2 separate regions of the Homo sapiens genome follow, and region 1 is linked to region 2. The links are contacts of gene promoters, found by promoter capture Hi-C in human tissues and cell types (Jung and others, 2019). All regions are on one chromosome and are shown on one strand. The core of a region is centred on a gene start or on the middle of the fragment in contact, and the rest is flanking DNA. Distances in the headings are between cores, read along the strand shown. Region 1 overlaps LOC105369310 (a long non-coding RNA gene). Region 2 holds the start of APLNR (apelin receptor).

The links. The method cuts DNA at HindIII sites, captures the fragments that hold promoters and counts their contacts. A contact is called where the count stands out against the background at its distance.
Region 1: a contact is called between a fragment that was not itself captured here and the fragment with the promoter of APLNR in region 2, in 1 of the 25 tissues and cell types used here (H1 embryonic stem cells).

What each region holds. Positions count from the first base shown.
Region 1 is chr11:56,933,566-56,936,265 of GRCh38, forward strand. All of the region lies in intron 1 of LOC105369310 (a long non-coding RNA gene), which reads right to left. Among named protein-coding and RNA genes, the nearest start is that of OR5AK2, 54 kb to the right of the region's middle. RefSeq lists an enhancer at 1-157. The HindIII fragment of the contact is 3,677 bases long and covers 1-2,700 here.
Region 2 is chr11:57,236,000-57,238,737 of GRCh38, forward strand. It overlaps APLNR (apelin receptor), which reads right to left and starts at 1,251. Exons shown (of 1, transcript NM_005161.6): 1 at 1-1,251. The coding sequence starts at 1,005. RefSeq lists an enhancer at 893-1,525. The HindIII fragment of the contact is 13,017 bases long and covers 1-2,738 here.

The sequences.
Region 1 (2,700 bases), core at 159-2,658, 300 kb before region 2:
TTATGCACTTCAAGTAAATTTCCTGAGGGTACTTTTAAAACTAAACATCAAATAATTTAGACAACAAAGTATCTTTTTCCTCTTCAATAAAGAATTGATACAAATTCAGAACACTAACAGGAAAATTCTAGACTTAAGCTTGACACTTGACCAACTGGACCTCATAACCATCTACGGAATATTCCACCCAGCAACCACAGAATCACGCAATATATCTTTATAACAAACTGTACATGTACCCCAGAATCTAAAATAGAAGTTGAAAAACAAAGTGGCAAAAATTGTGTAGCAGCCGCATCTCTAAGAAAACATAATGTAGTTATCATTTCTGAAAAATCAATTATTAACTCCCCACAGAATAGACCTTCTCATATATAGAGAGCTATCATATATAGATATATGTAGATATCTATATATATTCTCATATATACTTATCTCTCATATCAGAGACATATCTAGAGAGAAATATCTATGTATCTATCTAGAGATATATAAATAGAAAAATAGATGTCTATATATAAAAATATATATAGATATATAGATATAACAGAGAGATATATGAGATATATATATATAACTTCATGATCCTTCATATATATCTTTATTATTCTCTTTCATTTGCAACATTAATTGAGCACTTACCATTTATCAGGCATTGACCTAGGTGATGTGAATGAAGAGTCAGAAGCCCTACCTCTAGGAGTTTATATTCTAGTGCAGAAGGCAGTCAATAAACAAGTAAATGGAAGAAAAAACAAGATGATTACATTTAAAGAAAATAAATAGGATGAGGTGAGAGAGAATGATAAGCAGGGGACTAGATTAGTTCAGGGGGTCAGGCAGAAGGGAATCTGAGAATATTGAAGGAGCCTGCCATGACATCCTGAGAAGCAGAATCATCAAAGGCAAGTGCAAAGGCCCTGAGGCAGGAGCAAATTTCTGTTCGGACAGCAGAGTAGGAGGCCTATGTGACTGTAGAACTGTTTGCAAGGTGGTTTCCTCACTATCACTTAAATTTCATTCCTCCATAAGTATGGTTGGCCTTGGCTTTTTGACAGCATTCGAAATAATTTCCTATTACTTATATAAGCATAGTTTTCTCTGGACACTCATCCCAGATTTAAATTACCAGGTTAATATTCCCTTTATAAGCTTTTGTGCCCTGTGCACCTCACTGATACAAATGATCTCTGCCTGTGCCACTCACAAGACTGAAAACTCCATGAGAGCAGTGATTCTGTATGCTGTTATTCACCATTTCATCCCTAGCAATGTATCCCTAGCAATCAAATCCTTAGCATTTTATCCTAACAATGGACTGGGGTCCACTGTTTGGCATAGAGACATAGAGTGGATGTTCAATAAATATTTTAGTAATGATTAGTTTGTTAGTTAATTAGAGCAATGATAGATAAGCCTAGAAAGTTAAACTGAGCTCGTATTGGGAAAAAAAATCTAAAATTCTAGCTGAAAAGTTTGTGCTTGGTTTAGTAGACCAGATGGGTCCATAGAGAAGAATGCAAAGAAACCTGACATGAGATCCTGATGGGCAAGATCATGAGAGGCAAGTGCAAAGGCCTGTGAGCTAAGGAGTAGTTTAATTGGAATTGAGCTCTGGAAAAACCTAACTTAAAACCACACAAAGGAAAGACTGGAAGAGTGAATAGCGTGGAGGTGGAGAGATCAATGAAGTTCCTATTGTGAAACCTGGGTGAGAGATAATGAGTTTGGCTGATAATAAAAATATGCAATGTAAGGGAATACACAGAGACACATTGTGGATACTGGATCCATAGAATATGGTAAGTAATTAAACATTCAGGGGAACCCAAAGACACCCCAAAGTTTGGATTGTAGGTGGCAGCAAAGTAGAGGATGAAGAAAACTAGAATGTGAAGCAAAAGCGAAGGGCTGCTTTTAAGCACCTTGAGTTTATGGTATGAAAAGAAAACCTAAATGAAGATGTCTAGCAGATAATTGGAAAAAATGTCCTTCTGGATTTTTTTTTTTTATACTTTAGGTTTTAGGGTACATGTGCACAATGTGCAGGTTAGTTACATATGTATACATGTGCCATGCTGGTGTGCTGCACCCATTAACTCTTCATTTAGCATTAGATATATCTCCTAATGCTATCCCTCCCCACTCCCCCCACCCCACAACAGTCCCCAGAGTGTGATGTTCCCCTTCCTGTGTCCATGTGTTCTCATTGTTCAATTCCCACCTATGAGTGAGAACATGCGGTGTTTGGTTTTTTGTCCTTGCGATAGTTTACTGAGAACGATGATTTCCAATTTCATCCATGTCCCTATAAAGGACATGAACTAATCATTTTTTATGGCTGCATAGTATACCATGGTGTATATGTGCCACAATTTCTTAATCCAGTCTATCATTGTTGGACATTTGGGTTGGTTCCAAGTCTTTGCTATTGTGAATAGTGCCACAATAAACATACGTGTGCATGTGTCTTTATAGCAGCATGATTTATAGTCCTTTGAGTATATACCCAGTAATGGGATGGCTGGGTCAAATGGTATTTCTAGTTCTAGATCCCTGAGGATCTTAAAAGGAAAATAAGGACAAAAGATACCAACTTGAGCATACTCCCCGAAGAGTTAACTGAGGAAAATAGTAGAGAAAGAGACTTGATTTGACAGAGAATCTTAAAGCTGTTTTCACTGCAGAAGAGAGATAAGA
Region 2 (2,738 bases), core at 1-2,500:
GGAGGTGCCTGCGCACCTGCTCTGGCCACAGCAGAGCATGGAGGTGCAGGCCTGGCGGAAGCGGGGGTCGAAAAAGGCATAGAGGAAGGGGTTGAGGCAGCTGTTGACGTAGCTGATGCAGGTGCAGTAGGGGAAGATGTTCATGAGGAAGAGGTCAAAGTCACAGGGCCAGTGCAGCAGGCTGCCCAGCATGTACAGCGTCTTCACCAGGTGGTAGGGCATCCAGCACAGGGCAAAGGTCACCACCAGCACCACGATGATGCTGAGCAGCCGGCGCCGCTTCCGCAGGCCCTCGATGCGTTCCTTGCGGAAGTGGCCAGCGATGGTTTGGGCGATGAAGAAGTAACAGGTCAGCATGATGGTGAAGGGCACCACAAAGCCCACGGTGGTGGACGAGACCCCAAGGCCCACCTCCCAGGCCCACTCTGAGCTCACAGTGGCCACCATGGAGTAGTCCATGTAGCACTGCACCTTAGTGGTGTTCTCCAAGTCCCCGGTGGTGCGTAACACCATGACAGGCATGGCCAGGAGGGCGGCCAGCACCCAAAGAACTGCCGTGGCCACGGCCCCGCTGACCCGCAGCCTCAGCCGAGCATTGGCCACTGGCCTCACGATGGCCAGGTAGCGGTCGAAGCTGAGGCCGGTGAGGCAGAAGACGCTGGCGTACATGTTGACGAAGATGAGGTAGCTGCTGAGCTTGCAGAAGAAGGTCCCAAAGGGCCAGTCATAGTCCCGGTACGTGTAGGTAGCCCACAGGGGCAGCGTCACCACGAAGGTCAGGTCAGCCACCGCCAGGCTAGCAATGAAGATATCAGCTGAGCGCCTCTTCTCCCGGCTGCTCCGAAACACGGTCCAGAGCACCAGACCGTTGCCCGTGGTGCCCAGGAGGAAGACCAACATGTAGATGGCAGGGATGAGGGCCCCCGAGGATTTCCAGTCTGTGTACTCACACTCAGACTGGTTGTCTGCCCCATAGTAGTTGTCAAAATCACCACCTTCCTCCATGCTGGGGAGTGGAGAGAAGACGGGCAGAGGGTCCCAGGGACACCAGCTCCGTGGCTCTGTCACCCACTCTGCAAGCAGCCTGAATTTCTGGCTTGAGCCTCAGAGAGTAAGAAGGGCTGAAGATGCCCAGAGTCCTTCCCAGCACTCAGGAGGAGCTGCCTCTGGGTTCTCCAGACCCTGGAGGAAGCCTGTCTCCTGCAGAATTTCCTCCACCCTCTCTTGCCTTACCCCCGTCTCAGTTAAGACACTTCCTTGCACCCTCCTGCGTCCCTGTCTCCTCCTTGACTCGTCACTCCCTCCTCCCACCTCCAGACCAGCCCCTCTCTTGTGAGTCAAAATCTTTAGTGACAGCCCACTTTTTTTTTCTTTTTGTCACTGAGCAAGTGGACCAAATTGACCCCTACTGTGCTGGGCTGAACATTATCTGTGGTTTTGCAAGTCGGCTTTCCTGGCCCCGCCTCTCCTTTCTGGCTGCCACCCACCTTCACCCCAGCCCCTATCCCTCCACTTTCCTCTGGCCACCACTTCCTGCCTGCCCTTTAGGGCACTCCCTCCTCAGTGCTCTCCGCCCTCCTGTTCTCACCCCCTTCCATCCAATCTAAATGGGACACATTATGCAGATTGCAATCCAGCTTGAGCTGGAGCCAGGGCTGGTAGGGAGCAAGGAGGGTGTAAGATTTCGCAGGATGGGCAGGGCATCTGGCAGGTCCTCCTGGCAGGCAGGTCTGGCCCCCTCGGCTCCCTTCCTGCACCCCCAGCCCCCACCCAGACCAGGTGTCACAGGAGGGTCTTCTCCCACTTTGCCTCTCGCTTCATCTTTCTCTACCCCTTGGCTTTGACCCTCCCTCTGAGAACTTTTGTGGTTTCTAGAGAAATACCCCTACACTAGTGTAGACTGCAGTTTGCAGTTTGCGGAAGGCACAGGATGCTTTAGAAGGTTGAGGGCAGTCACAGGATGGAAGAAACCCAGGACAAAATTATCTCTAAACAAGTCATTAAATCTGTAGGAAACAAAGGCCCAACAAGGTCAATGTTTTGCCCAAGGTAATAAAGTGAATTATGCTACAGTTGATTGTTTGCTTTTCTTCTTCTCCAAACACGAACATAATACAGTACCTGGCATGTCGTAGGTGAATGGCTGTTTTGTTTGTTTGTTTGTTTGTTGAGACAGAGTTTCACTCTTGTTGCCCAGGCTGGTCTAGGCTCACTGCAACTTCTGCCTCCTGGGTTCAAGCGATTCTCCCGCCTCAGCCTCCCTAGTAGCTGGGATTGCAGGCTAATTTTTTTGTATTTTTAGTAGAGATGGGGATTGACCAGGCTAGTCTCAAACTCCTGACCTCAGATGATCCACCCACCTCGGCCTCCCAAAGTGCTGAAATTACAGGCATGAGCCACCACGCCCAGCCAGGTGAATGGCTGTTGAGTGAGTAAGTGGATGGATGATGTAGGAGGTGAGTGAAAAGGGGAATCCATAGATGGAAGAACAAGTGTAAGAATTACTACGTGGTGAGAACATGGATACATTTCAGTTCTCAGGTTTTTACTATCCTCCATGGACCAAGAGGTTTCTGTAAGACCACAGGGGGTCAGGAAGTTGAGCTAGAGGAGGGGGGTCTCTAGAGAAAGACTCAGTCACTGGAGGATACTGTGGGGAAAGTTCCGTAGACGCTCACTTTGCCCCAGCTCATCACCTCTCCAGGACCTCTAGGAAGGAAGGAAGATGCACGACGTAA